Regions from separate parts of the Homo sapiens genome. Here all the other regions are linked to region 4. The links are contacts of gene promoters, found by promoter capture Hi-C in blood cells and fetal thymus (Javierre and others, 2016). All regions are on one chromosome and are shown on one strand. The core of a region is centred on a gene start or on the middle of the fragment in contact, and the rest is flanking DNA. Distances in the headings are between cores, read along the strand shown. Region 1 has its middle 27 kb from the start of OTUD4. Region 2 overlaps TTC29 (tetratricopeptide repeat domain 29). Region 3 overlaps OTUD4 (OTU deubiquitinase 4). Region 4 holds the start of ZNF827 (zinc finger protein 827). Region 5 holds the start of SLC10A7 (solute carrier family 10 member 7).

What was found. Contacts are between HindIII fragments. The CHiCAGO score rates a contact against its expected background, and 5 or more counts as called.
Region 1: a fragment that was not itself captured here is called in contact with the fragment with the promoter of ZNF827 in region 4 in 1 of 17 cell types (activated CD4 T cells); the score reaches 5.5 in activated CD4 T cells.
Region 2: a contact is called between a fragment that was not itself captured here and the fragment with the promoter of ZNF827 in region 4, in 1 of 17 cell types (M2 macrophages). The highest score is 7.3, in M2 macrophages.
Region 3: a fragment that was not itself captured here is called in contact with the fragment with the promoter of ZNF827 in region 4 in 2 of 17 cell types (fetal thymus and total CD8 T cells); the score reaches 8.7 in fetal thymus.
Region 5: the fragment with the promoter of SLC10A7 here is called in contact with the fragment with the promoter of ZNF827 in region 4 in 1 of 17 cell types (fetal thymus); the score reaches 6.3 in fetal thymus.

The regions. Positions count from the first base shown.
Region 1 is chr4:145,206,398-145,209,097 of GRCh38, forward strand. No RefSeq gene overlaps it. Among named protein-coding and RNA genes, the nearest start is that of OTUD4, 27 kb to the left of the region's middle. The HindIII fragment of the contact is 3,706 bases long and covers 1-2,700 here.
Region 2 is chr4:146,927,461-146,930,160 of GRCh38, forward strand. The region is part of intron 4 of TTC29 (tetratricopeptide repeat domain 29); the gene reads right to left. Among named protein-coding and RNA genes, the nearest start is that of TTC29-AS1, 5.2 kb to the right of the region's middle. The HindIII fragment of the contact is 1,816 bases long and covers 500-2,315 here.
Region 3 is chr4:145,175,114-145,177,813 of GRCh38, forward strand. All of the region lies in intron 1 of OTUD4 (OTU deubiquitinase 4), which reads right to left. Among named protein-coding and RNA genes, the nearest start is that of OTUD4, 4.1 kb to the right of the region's middle. The HindIII fragment of the contact is 1,655 bases long and covers 496-2,150 here.
Region 4 is chr4:145,937,483-145,940,182 of GRCh38, forward strand. It overlaps ZNF827 (zinc finger protein 827), which reads right to left and starts at 1,341. Exons shown (of 15, transcript NM_001306215.2): 1 at 883-1,341. The coding sequence starts at 925. RefSeq lists silencers at 1-93, 214-283 and an enhancer at 658-717. The HindIII fragment of the contact is 1,765 bases long and covers 1,083-2,700 here.
Region 5 is chr4:146,520,567-146,523,266 of GRCh38, forward strand. SLC10A7 (solute carrier family 10 member 7) reads right to left here and starts at 1,374. Exons shown (of 12, transcript NM_001029998.6): 1 at 1,052-1,374. The coding sequence starts at 1,151. RefSeq lists enhancers at 502-731, 1,172-1,241, 1,462-1,541, 1,552-1,971, 2,142-2,221. The HindIII fragment of the contact is 7,940 bases long and covers 175-2,700 here.

The DNA.
Region 1 (2,700 bases), core at 115-2,614, 730 kb before region 4:
ATTTGAGAGTCTAACCATTTTGCCATTCAGGATCTATTCTTATTCTTTGTATTAGTCTGTTGTCATGCTGCTAATAAAGATTTACCTGAGACTGGGTAATTTATAAAGGAAAGAAATTTAATGGGCTCACACATTCACATGGCTGGGGAGGCCTCACAATCATGGCAGAGGCAAAGGGGAAGCAGAGGTACATCTTACATGGTGGCAGGCAAGAGAGCTTGTGCAGGGGATCTCCCCTTTATAAAACCATCATATCTCATGAGACTTATTCACTATCATGAAAACAGTGGAGGAAAACCCGCCCCTATGATTCAATTACCTCTCACCAGGTTCCTCCCAGGACATATGGGGATTATTACAATTCAAGGTGAGATTTGGGTGGGGACACAGAGCCAAACCATAACACCCTTATACCAATACAACAGCAACTCCATGATTCTGCCTAACATGAGTCTACTATCCATCATGCAAACAAAGATACTGTTGTCTTTTTTTCCAGAAAATGGACACACAAGGTCCTAGAAAAGTCAGCCATTGTACCTATCTCAAGATTTTCCAGGTGATAACACAATCCTGTAATCCTCCCTGTTGTGGTTCCTTGTGGTCCTGGTTACCTGTGAACTAAATTGTAAAATTAGTCACTACCAATTCTCATTCAACATAAGAGGGAAGATAATGGTAAGAAAATCTGAAAGAAAAAAAAACTGGCACATATGAAATATTGTGTGCGTGTATGTGCATAGCTGCTATGATCCATATTTCTGTAACTGATTACAGGGTCAAGAGTGATATTTATTACTTCCTTCTTCCACCACCCATTTCATGATTGCTTTGTCCTAATATAGCACCTGGATTTGTTGGGATTCTGTACCTGATTGGGTGACTAAGACCTTTATATTGAAGGATCTTAGTCCATAGAAGTTCAGATTTTATTGGGTGGCTTTACACTGGACATAGAAGTAATGAGATATCCTAGAGAATCCCTGGGGTTCTAGACATGATCCTCCCTACCTGCACCATGCACCAGCCACCCAGTTTTCTTGTGTTAATCAGATCAATTTTTCCAGTCTCTACAGCAACTTCCTTCTCTACTTGTTGGTGAGTCTCAGCTTCCAATTTGATGGGACTTGTGTTGGATTCTCTGGTGACAATATTCCTCTTTGGGAACTAAGTCCTGTAAACTAGCAAAGCCCAAGGGTGAGAATGAGAGGCAAAACCTCTGAGAAAGGGCTAGGCTTAACAGGGAGAGAGGCCACTCCCATTTCTATCACTTGGACTATCCCATGTATTATGGCTATGAGAGAAATAACACATCATAAGTAGAGAGCTGGATCAGAGTTATACTGCACCCCTACATCATAGAATGTTGTCTTCTGGCAGATGACATAACTGGCTTCTTAGTAAGCTATTCTTCCATTCTATTAGGCCAGCTGCTTCTGGCTGATAATTTAGGTAGTAAGACCAGTGAACTCCATGAGCAATGAACAATTGTACTTTTTTTTTTTTTTTTTTGTAAAATGGTTTCCAGAAGTCATATTGTAAGGAATACCATGCTACTGAATAAGGCCTCCTGTGAACCCATAGATGGTATTGGGAGATTTATTGCAGGCATTGAGGACCAATGCATATCCTCAGTAAGTGCTTAATTTGCTCCTTCTGTGATGGAAGGAGCTCACTATTGTCTACCTACCACAAAACAGCTGGCTGGTCTCCTCTGGGAAATGTGCCCTATCAGTGACTCAGTGTTGGCCTCTGCTGTTGGCTGGTTGGGCACCCAGCAGTGGCTATAGTCAGATCAGCCTTGTTAAGGGAAGTCTCTGTTATTGAAGTCCCTGTTATGATTGACTCTATCCCTACTGCTATGGTCACTTTGTATGCAATCAAGTACCACGATGGGTGAGAAAAGAGGCTGTACCGAATATCTTCTTTTTGCTCCCCTCTCCACTGTACTCTGAGTTATGAGTAGTTGCATGTGAGATTCTGCAGTTGCTAGGTATGTCTACCTCAACTATCCAGAGATATATCCAGAGACAGAGGATATAACCACAGGATGGGGCTGCGAGCCCACTGGGCCCACTGTGACATAGTCTCAGCCCCAAACTCCATTAACCCCCTGACCTCTATAAGCCCCCATTCTGAATGAATGATGGATCACAGTGATTTTTCCCAGGGATTAGCATCAACTCAAATTTGATTAGCATCAACTCAAATCTATGAATTCCCCCAAATTTGGATACTTGTCTTTTCCCAGTGCACAGTCATCCTGGTAAAGGACTGCAGATCTCACGGGGTAGGTTTGAAGGACGATTTCTAGTACAAGCAGGCAGTGTTTTCAGATCCTTCCTGATAAAACCCATACTCCTGGCTGGGCACGGTGACTCACACCTGTAATCCCAGCACTTCAGGAGGCCAAGGCAGGTGGATCACCTGAGGTCCGGAGTTCGAGACTAGCCAGGCCAACATAGTGAAACCCCATCTGTACTAAAAATACAAAAATTAGCCGGGCATGTTGGCCGGTGCCTGTAATCCTAGCTACTTGGGAGGCTGAGACAGGAGAATTGCTTGAACCCAGGAGGCAGAGGTTGCAGAGAGCCAAGATCGTGCCATTGCACTCCAGCCTGAGTGACAAGAGCAAAATTCCGTTTCAACAAAGAAAAGAAAAAAAGAAAAAAAACCCCACTCTCCCTTTCAAAGGGTCCC
Region 2 (2,700 bases), core at 158-2,657, 990 kb after region 4:
CTACACTCTCTTTCCATTTTTTAAATCCTGGCCATGACCCCCAAACCAATGGGTCAAAATCACTACCCACTAATGAGTCACAATCTATATACTATCTGTACTATAATACATACATACAACATACGTACATAGTATATACATGCATAGTATAGAACATACTATAGTATGTTAAATATTAATAAAGGGGAAATAAAACACTTGTACATGACTGTCAATGGCCATCAAGATAGTTCAAACAGGAGTTCTGCTCTCTACCAAGTGTTTCAAAGGAGGCCTCACAAAGCAGGAAACTGTTAAGTTGAAGCTGGAAGATAAAAGCTTGCCCAGTACACAAGGCATGAGAGAAAGCAGAGGGTTTTCCAGGCAGAACACATGTGCAAGGCTATGAAGGGGTAAAAGATCATGGGTTCTCATTCCTGTGAGGTGAGCTAAGCACTGTATGAATAGAGTACCAATGATGCACATACGAGCAGAGCAGCAATGGCCTCAGCTCTCTTGAAGCTTGTAGTCAAGTATAGGAAACAATTATACTGTATTGCAATGGCAATACAGTGCTATAAGTGCACTGGAGATTACAAGATAGTAGCAAGTTTATCTAATACAGTCGAGCCATTTAAGAATGAGTAAGAATCATGAGACAGTAAGGAGAAAAATCATTCTAGGCCAAGAGAATGGAAATACACTAAGAATGAGAGATGAGAGAAAACACAGTTTAATGAAGACCTGAGTATTTTCAGAGGCAGAATGGTATAATGCTCCAAAAATGAGTGTTAGACCCAGACTGCCTAGATTCAAAGTCAGCTCTTCTACTTATTATGTGTGTGTCCTTGGGAAAGTTACTTAGTATCTCTGTGCATCAATTTTTAGCTGTAAATTGAACTAATAAATACTTTTTGTGAATTAAATGAATGAATACATATGAGGCACTTAAAACAATACCTGAAACATAGAAAGTGCTCTACAAATATTAGTCATTACTATTATTTTTGCAAGAAGATGAATTTCAAAGCAGGAATGGAAGGAATTAAACCTGGAAACAGTATGCACAGGCTGGGATGAGACTGGCCTTAATTAAAAAGTATTTCTTGAGTGCCTACTATGTGGATACTGTTATAGGTGCTGGAGACTCAGCAGTGAACAAGACATCCCTCTAGTTGCTCAGGTCAGTTCAGAAGGAGTCATTTTTTATCTATTCCTTTACTAAGTTCCCATGTTTACTCCGTCGGTAAACTCTGATCTCTCTGTCACTTGAATATATTCTAAATTAGACCACTTCTCATCATTTCTACTACATCTGCCCTGATCAAGCCACCAATGTCTTTTGCTTGGGGTGTTCCCCAGTCAAATATCTACAGAGCACAACAGCCTTGAGTGATCCTTTTAAAATAAAGTGATATCATATCATTTCCCTGCATAAAATGAGCCAAAGGTTTCCTAGCATACTTAGAAGAAAATTTAGGCTTTTTGGAAATTATTCTGACCAAATAACTTTTATCCCTTAGGAACAATGTGAAGGGAATTTTTTAAAAATCCAAAAAGCATAAAAGAGATTTGGAAAGATTCTTATTGATCATCTAAGAGTTTTGGAAGATACTCTAGTAATTAATTAATAAGTAAATTAATAAACAATTTGTATTAATTTAAGGACAGAGGCAATCAACATTGGAAATTTTCCAGCAACACAAATCTTTCAATATATAAACCTAGACTAAAACAAAAACTAATAAAGCAAAACATATAATTAAAACTTTTCTAAAATATATTATTCATTTCCCTGCCATATGAAACAGAGTAAGGTCAACAAAAAAATGCTTTGTTATGAATTCTGTTATTTAATTTCAACACAATGTAAATACACTGAAAAGGGTGGCTGCAGGGCCCAGTCATGCCTTGCCCTTGTCCCCAGACAGTCTGTCCTTTTCACAGTGGCCAATTATTTTATCTTCCCCATGTCAGCTAGTATTTCAGTATTTTAGCTTCTTCCTTACAAATTTAATTTACCTAAAGTAGGAAAAACAGGATGCTTCCATGAAAAGCAATATAGGCAAGCTAGTTAAATAAGAAAACCTAATTTTATATACATGTCTAAGTCGACAGACTTGGCCTAAGGATGCCTCCACAGCCCTCCTTACAGTAAAATATGTAGGCTATTTTTCTGGAGCTTTTCTTTGTTGTGTCAAGGTTTGCATGCATATACTGATGTTGGTTAATATAAATCTGACATCTGAATTAGTGATGTGTTCCTGATATTCTTCTTATGAAGGAACTGTCAAGTTTTGCCTGCACTGTGTGGATTGCAAGGAAGAAGAGGAAGAAGCTTCTCTATTTGGGTTTTCTAGCTATACAGTATCTGTGATGTGCAATACAGCAAAGTGCAATAGAATAAGGTATGCCTGTATTTAATATGACTTAACATGCTTACACTTTGGTTTAAAGAGAAGCACTTAAAATATATTGAAAGATTTTTATATAGTGGTATGTAGAAAATTGGGATTAATAGTTAAAGCACAGAGCTTGAAGATGCTAATACACACATACATATATACACACAAACATGCACACATACAATATATATATATATATTTATGAAGATACACACTACATATATTTGTATGTGTGTGTGCATATATATATATATATATATATATATATATATATACACACATATATATCTTGATAAGTTGCCTTCCTAGATCAAAG
Region 3 (2,700 bases), core at 73-2,572, 760 kb before region 4:
TACATATTGAAAAAGACAAACTGGCAACTTCTGTAGGAATGTATTTTGAGGCTTTCAGCCTGTAAGAGGCCGATTTATTTTTCCCATTAATTCTGAATCCACTTAGAGGCTCTGTGTAAAAATTTAAGTCCACTATGGTTTCAGAAAAATTAAGGCACTCATTCTTTCCTTGGTGATCAAGCTTATAAGACAAGAAAGAACATCCAAGTAGGCAGCATAGGGGGTGCAAAAATGTTGTGTGGTATCATCCCAAGAGGTTTGGGGTTTGTTTTTATGCCCTAAATTGTAAAGTACCAACCTACAAAGTATGATCCAGATCCTCTCACTCTGCAGTTTACATTTTCTTCTATTAAACAACCAGTTCAACAAAAAGATAACTTACTGGCATGTGGTCTTTTACCAAAATTCTAAAGCTGTGAATTGAAACAACTATTTCTTTTTTTTTTTTTGAGACGGAGTCCTGCTCTGTCACCCAGGCTAGAGTGCAGTGGCGCAAGCTTGGCTCTCTGCAACCTTCACCTCCCAGGTTCAAGCGATCTTCCTGCCTCAGCCTCCTGAGTAGCTGGGATTACAGCCAACTACCACGGCGCTTGGCTAATTTTTGTATTTTTAGTAGAGACAGGGTTTCACCATCTTGGCCAGGCTGGTCTCAAACTCCTGACCTCGTGATCCGCCCACCTCGACCTCCCAATGTGCTGGGATTACAACAGGCATGAGCCACTGTGCCCAGCCTGAAACAACTATTTCTTATCCAATGCTTCCTTCTAGCTAGCTCCCAATTCTTTTTTCCCCCACCAGGCTGGAGTGCAGTGGTGCAATCTCAGCTCACCGCAACCTCCGCCTCACAAGTTCAAGCGATTCTCCTGCCTCAGCCTCCCGAGTAGCCGGATTACAGGAGCTGCCATGTCCGGCTAATTTTTCTTTCTTTCTTTTTTTTTTTTCCGGCTCATTTTTCTATTTTTAGTAGAGACAGGGTTTCACCATGTTGGGCAGGGTGGTCTCAAACTCCTGACCTCAGGTGATCTGCCCGCCTGGGCCTCTCAAAGTGCTGGGATTACAGACATGAGCCACCACGCCCGGCCCTAGCTCCCAATTATTTAACATGCTTAAAGGAGATTAAAATTCTTTTCTATTACTGGGTATCTCAAATAAAGATATTCCTGTACCGTAAAGGGTTATGGTTTAAAAAAAAAAAACTCAGACACACTTAAAGTAACACATTTCAAACTACCATCAAGGCCTCTTGAGAATTTATATTAATAGAAAGTATCTTTAAAAGTTACAGATCCTGGCCGGGCACTGTGGCTCACGCCTGTAATCCCAGCACTTTGGGAGGCCGAGGAGGGTGGGTCCCCTGAGGTCAGGAGTTTGAGACTAGCCTGGTCAACATGGTGAAAACCCCATCTCTACTAAAAAATACAAAAAAAAAAAAAAAATTAGCCAGGTGTGGTGGTGCGTGCCTGTAGTCCCAGCTACCTGGGAGGCTGAGGCAGGAGAATGGCTTGAAACCAGGAGGCAGAGGTTGCAGTGAGCCGAGATCGTGCCAGGGCACTCCAGCCTGAGTGACAGAGTAAGACTCTGTCTCAAAAAAAAAAAGTTACAGATCCAATTGAGTGGTTCTCCCTTTACGTTTAGCATGAGTAGAGCATTTGGGAAAAGGGAGGCTCCAGCTGTGCATTCTACAGCTCTCTTGGATCACAACCAAGGCTCATTTATACCCACAGAACCGGCACAACTGCCTGGACGCCTAGTATGTCCTATTACGCTGAGATACACTGAAAATGCACCTGTTGAGGTTAGCAATTAGTTTGTTTTCAGTGTAATAACTGGTTTTCAGTTTAACTGATTCTACCTTCACTGCTGTTCTTGGACACTATTAAACTATATTCTTATATATTCTAAGAGTATGTGACCAAAAAGGACTATCTATATATAAAAATAACCACCGTAGAATTTTTTTGCCAATTCAACAAATGACATTTAGCAACACTTCTTTCACAGAAGCTATGTTAGACACTATCATGAATCAAGGTATTACTCGTATGAATAAACCACAGTGTCATCTGATAGGGCTTTCCTCTGCCATTAGCAACGTGGAGCTAGTCTTAAAGCCATTTACCTAGCAACAGGTGGCAAACATAAGTTAGTAAAGCTTATTTTCAATCAAAAGCAATGGTAGGCATATCTACTGGTTCTTCTCTTTTAACAAAGATTTTGGCACATACAATCTATCTGAACCTGTTGCTCAGAAGCAAAACTCTTAGCAACTTCTATAAAGTGTGAGAGTGCTGGTAATTCACAAAGTCAAGCACTGCAAGAAAAGCAAGGTTAAATGACAACTGTCTAAAATGTAAATTATTGTGCAAGGTTGATAACACTTCGAAAGAATTAAAGTAGTATGACAAATATCTCTGCAAATTAATATATACATGAAAGCAAACTAGAAGGCTTTCCCATTTTTACTTGGGACAAGATAGTGATAAATACTGGGAAAGGCTGAGACACTGTTTTAGCAAGTCCTCCAAGACTGCCCTATTTTTAGCTCCATGGCTGTGGAGCTGATTCAGGTCAGGCCTCCGGCAGGCCCAAATCCGTAAGTGTAAAAAGGAAATGGCCTATCTAAATCAGATAATTTGGAGAGAAAGACCAAAATCCTAACTCGAGTCTCCTCCCCGTCTTTAAAAACTGCCACTTAGATTA
Region 4 (2,700 bases), core at 91-2,590:
CTGCCTCCTGCCTTCGCCTCGGCGCAGCTCCCGCACCCCACATCCGCCCGCCGCTGCCCGGCCTCGCCCCCCGCCCGGCCGCCCCGCGCCCCGGCGCGCCCCCTCGCCTCGGCGCCGCGGGAGCAGCCGCCCGGCGGCGCGTGTGTACCCGTGTGTTTGTGTGCGGTGCCCCTACACCCTCCCCAGCCGCTCCCGCCTCGCCCGCCCCCGACTCCCCTCCTCCGCCGCCGCCTCCTCCACCTCCGCCTCCTCCTGCTCCAGCCGCCGCCGCCGCTGCCGCCGGCGGCTCGGGGGCCGACCAACCCCGGCGCAACCTTTAGCCAGGGACGGACCTCTCCCTGGATCCTGTACCCGGCGGCTGCTGCGCGCCCTCTCCCCGACACCCCCAAACGCCATGTCACGGCCCCCAGCCCTCCGCGCGCCCCGACCCCCGCACCCTCAGGCGCCGGAATCCACAAGGAATTTTTTTTTTTTTAAGATTCCAACCTCTCCCACCTCCCCCCACCAAACCCCCGATAAAACCCCCGGCATCCACACTACTCCCCTCCTCCCTTCTCTTGCCCCCTCCCCCCAGCAACCCAGAGTGAGGAGGGGGAAGGGGAGGGAAAGGGAAAAAAAAGCCCGATCTCAAGGAAAAAAAGGGGGGGGGTGAGAGAAAGAAAGAAAAAGAGAGAGAGAATAGAAAGGGCACGGGGCTGATCATCACCAACATGGCTGCCTCAGCATAGACCTAAACGAGGAGTAACCCGGGCTGTGTCTTTGTCAGTTTCACCTCTGTAACCCTAAACTAATGCAGAAAACAACGGAGGAGGCTGCGGAGGGGAAAGAGGAGAGGGAGGGCGAGAAAATGGCACGAGAGGAGGTGGAGAAGGGATGACTTACGTGAGGGAAGGCGCTTGGGCTGCTCCTGCTTCCTCCTGGGCATTTTCCCCCTTTTCTCACATTCTCCTCCTTGGTTAATGTGAGATCAAATAAACCCCCGTGGGGGCAGAGAGGCAGACACTGGCAGGAGCGGGGAGGTAGTTGGGGGGCGGGCGGGCGGGCAGGGGGAAACCCCTTCTCCGGTGTGTGCAATGGGTTGAAGCTTGTTTCCTGGAGCCAGAAGAGGGGTTTTCTTCTTTTCTTTCCTTTCTTTTTTCCTTTTTTTTTTTTTTTTAAATTTTTGGTCGTGCACCTGGCTTGTCCCCGAGCGTAATATTCTTCAATGGAAACGGATCTAATAGGTGTGAGTGTGTGTGTGTCCTATGCTCGCGTGTGTGATGGGAGGTATAAATAAATGAGTGCCGGTGCGGCGGTGTCTATGGCCGCGCTCTGTGTCTCCGAGCCCCTAACACTAATGTCGGGATCAAAGGGCAGCGGCGGCGGCAGCACAGCTCACAGCTCGCTCTCTTGCTCTCTCTCTCTCTCTTTCTCGCTCTCTCTCCTCTCGCGCTCTCTCTCTCGCTCTCTCTCTGTCACACACACACACACACAAGAGGCACAGACTGAGGGAAAGAGCGAGAGCTACACACACACACACGCACGCACACACACACACAGAGCAAAGAGGAAAGTGCCCCAAGGCTCCCAGGGCGGACTCAGCCTCGGATTTACAACCGCTCTGTCTGGAAAGAATGGGGGGCGCGCGTGCGGGGGTGGGATGGAGTTCTTCAAATTTATCCCGCTAGTCACCAAATCTAGGGGGAAAAAGTTTTTCTCACTCTTTAAACAACGATTAGTTCATTATTTTACTGACTTTTAAAAAGGAAATAAATTTCTCTCTTCACTTTCTTTTGTTTATTAAGCTACATTTTGTTCTGTATGAAATTCTGCAGGCTTTTGTCCCTACCCCATCACCTTAAATCTGGAGGTTATCGTCTCCCACACACTCTTCAAAAACATTCCAAAAAAACTAATTTAAAAAAAATGAAGACAACATATGGTGAAATCAATAACTTGGTTGACAGTTGACAGAATAAGTGCCCAGTTTTGGAGTGTCCACTGGAGTTAAAACTGAAAAATGCTCCTAAATGAACATTACAGCTACTTGACAAAGAGAGGAAAATAAGATTAGGTCACCCCTGATGGTTGCTTTAACTGCTACGTGATACTCCTAGAGTGCACACAGCAATCTTTACTTCGGAAATTCACTTTTTCCCCTGCTATATACTGCAGGTATATGAAGTTTACCCTGAAGCAATTCCAGTGTGCATTATGAGCCCAATATAGCAGTTTTCATTAACTGATACATACTTTCATTACCTTACAAATCACACATCTTTCTTCAAAGAGAGACATAAAGGAGAAAAATAGAAAAGGACGGGTCTCACTAGAGCACAAAAGGTACTTGGTGAAAGAGGACTGTTCTCTTTGTGACTTGCAGTCATTTGGATAAAAGTTCACTCAGAGGTTGTTAATGATTTAAACTCCAAAACCTGCTACTATAATTGAAATAAAAATGGTCTGAAGAAGAGTTGTTTCATAAAACTCTCTTTGTAAGAGGAAACTTTGAACTTAGCAGAATACATTATATGTCATGAGTCATGTAGCTAGAAAATAAAAAGGTGCATTATTTAACTACATCTTCCCTTTTTAGCTTTTTTAAAACTCTGACTCATCATCTTATTATGTTAAATATTTTCCTACCAATTTTTAAATAGACCTTTTCATCAAAGAAAGTGGAGGCACAGTAAAGACATAGAACATTAAAATGACACTCTA
Region 5 (2,700 bases), core at 124-2,623, 580 kb after region 4:
GACCACTGCTGTTCTCCTAAGAGATCATTTCATTCACTTCCATCATGTTTTAACAAAAAGATAAAAATAACTTCAAATATCCTCCTGAGCGCTTCCTACTATGAAATATTGTGCCTGTTCACCTCTATCCTTATTTGCTCCGGTTGCATGAGTTAGGTATTAAACCTGTCAATAAGCTTGGAAACTGACAAACAAGGTCAAAAAGACAAGCGAATTGAATAAATTCAATTAATGTTTATGAAAAGTAGTACAAGATTGTCTAAAGGTGTTGGGGGGGGCATAAAAAACTAATATTTCTAATGTTCCCACCAGTGCCCATCATCTCCTGTACAAAGCTCCCACTATTCAGAGATCTAAGTATGCTTTCAGTCCATCCACATTTCCTTGCCAAAACACACACTACACTACACTACACATAGTCTAACAGTCTGTATCTGTTAGACTGCTAGTATAGCAACTGAATCCCGGCAGCACACGGAAGTATGCTGTAATGAAGTGTCCTGTAATCAAAGAGTGCAACGTGTCAGTCGGCTTGGGAGTTTCTGGAGCACCAGCAACTACAGCAAATCATCACTCTCCAACATGTGGGCCATAAAATCTGAGTTGGGGGCGGAGGTGTCCCTTTTCTTGTTTTTCCTCCACTTTTTTTTTTAATGTGGGGGCGGGGAGGACTCGAAAGTAGACTCGATAATGAGGTCCACTCCAAGATAGATACGGAACTCTTAGCAACCTAGATTCCCTTGGGATAGGATGCTACTTTGAAGGCAAGAGGAGTAAGTTTCATTCTCTGTAACCTCACTTCTTGACACTCAGGATAGTCATTGTTTGTCTACGGAAAAGGCTACCTGCCCTCAAATTCCTTTGCCTCGTTCCTAATTACAAGTTCCCTCTGGGGTTGGTAAATTAGAAAATCAGCAAAAGGGCCAAAGGCTGGTCAGTGCCCCCTGAAATTGGCAAGCGCTTGCAATGAGGGTTGCCCCACCTTTCCAAGACTCACAAATTAGTTCTGAAGTGGGAGCCGCGGTGGAGCCGGCAGAGGTGCAGCACTTACCCCCATTCACCCCTATGGACGGCTCCAGTTTAGCTCCAGCGATCGCCAGCACTATTCCGACCATGAACCAGTCTTTCCTCATTCTCTCCAGCAGCCTCATATTTGTTAGGGTGGGTGGGTTTTGTTTATTTGTTTGGCTTTTTTTCTTTTCAAGCTCCGATCACCTAATCCTTGGAGCGTCTCCACACTTTCCTTGGTCCCTCCAGACATGCAGCAGAGCAAGTCAAATTGCCGATTGTAAAGTAAAGACCTGGGGGTTGCTCCGGCGGCTTTGAGGAGGGTTGGGAGTAGTAGTAGCCAGTGACAGGAAAGTCTCACTGAGCGCCGCCATCACTACCACGCGCCTCAGAATACACGCGCACAAACGCCCCCAGCGCCTCTGGCCGCGGGCTCGCAGGTGCAGATGCTTTGAAATGAAGAACTCGGACCAGGCCGACAACGTGGGCGATCCGGCAAGGGAGGCTGGCCGCCGGATGGGGCTGACAAGCGCACCGCTGTCGAGACCTGCGGAACCTTCTGAATGACGAGGGGTCGGGGAGAGCGTCGTAAGGCGCCACAGCCAGCAAGCCTCACTGACTGTCCTTTTCTAACAAACCTTTAGGCACAGCCACCCACCCTTCTGGAGCATATCTCCATGGAGAGCCTCTCTTTTGCTGTGCCATGACTCCGCGGGCAGGGCTGACGTGTGCTTGGGGCAAGGGATTTCTCCGTTGAAGCTGCGGCAGCGGGGTGCAAGTTTGGAGACGCGCTTCTTCGGGACATTACGGCGCTTCCACGACGCTAGCGCTGACGTATGCGCGGGGGGGAGGGGAGGCCACTCTGGATCTCCGAGTTCCCAGCCTGAGCTGCCGGAGTTAGAGGTGTCCGCGCGGGAAAGTGGCTCGCTGGTGGGCGGGGAGCCTTATCTCTGGCGGTGGGTTGAAAATCCGGCGCCGGGCAGATGCCCACGTTCGCTGGACCCCTGCTTGCCGGCGTCCGCTACAACCCAAGGAAGGTGGGCCCGACCTCGCCAGGTCGCTCGCCTGCGGGTGGGCATTTGGTCCGGATCCCCTTCCCTCTGCGGCCCACACCTGTCTCCGGGACTGGGGAGGGCTGCAGGGATCGGGGCAGATCTGCCTTTGCGGGCCGAGAGTGACAGCTGAAGTCTCCCCACCAACTAAGCTACTCGCGGGCGGAGTGGGGTCTGCGCTGGCAAGCCCCTGGGCGCGCGGGTGCCCGCTCTGGCTCGCCCCCAGGGCTGACCTACCCAAGCCACAGGAAAACTCTGGGAAGAGGGTCGCGGATTCCAACGCGGAAGTGGTGGGGGATTGAGTCTGAGAGGTTGGGGAGTCCTACCTTCCATTGCCACGAGTGCTAGTTCTATCTGCCAGTTTCTTCCTTGAAATGTCTTGTGGCAACCAGTGACATTGATGGTTTCATGAATGGACTTCCTACCGGTAGACCCTGCAAGAGCATGAACTCCACTGTATCATTCATCCAAATGAAGAAAGAAAGAAAATAGTATGTGATATTTTGAAATAACCTGGCATCTGCCACTTAAATGGTTAAAAATAGAACTTAAGGTTTGGAAGAGATTGTTTCGTGATGACAGACTTTAATTCTGAATTTATTCAAAGCTGGAAAGACACTCGTCGTGTCATTTCCTCTAT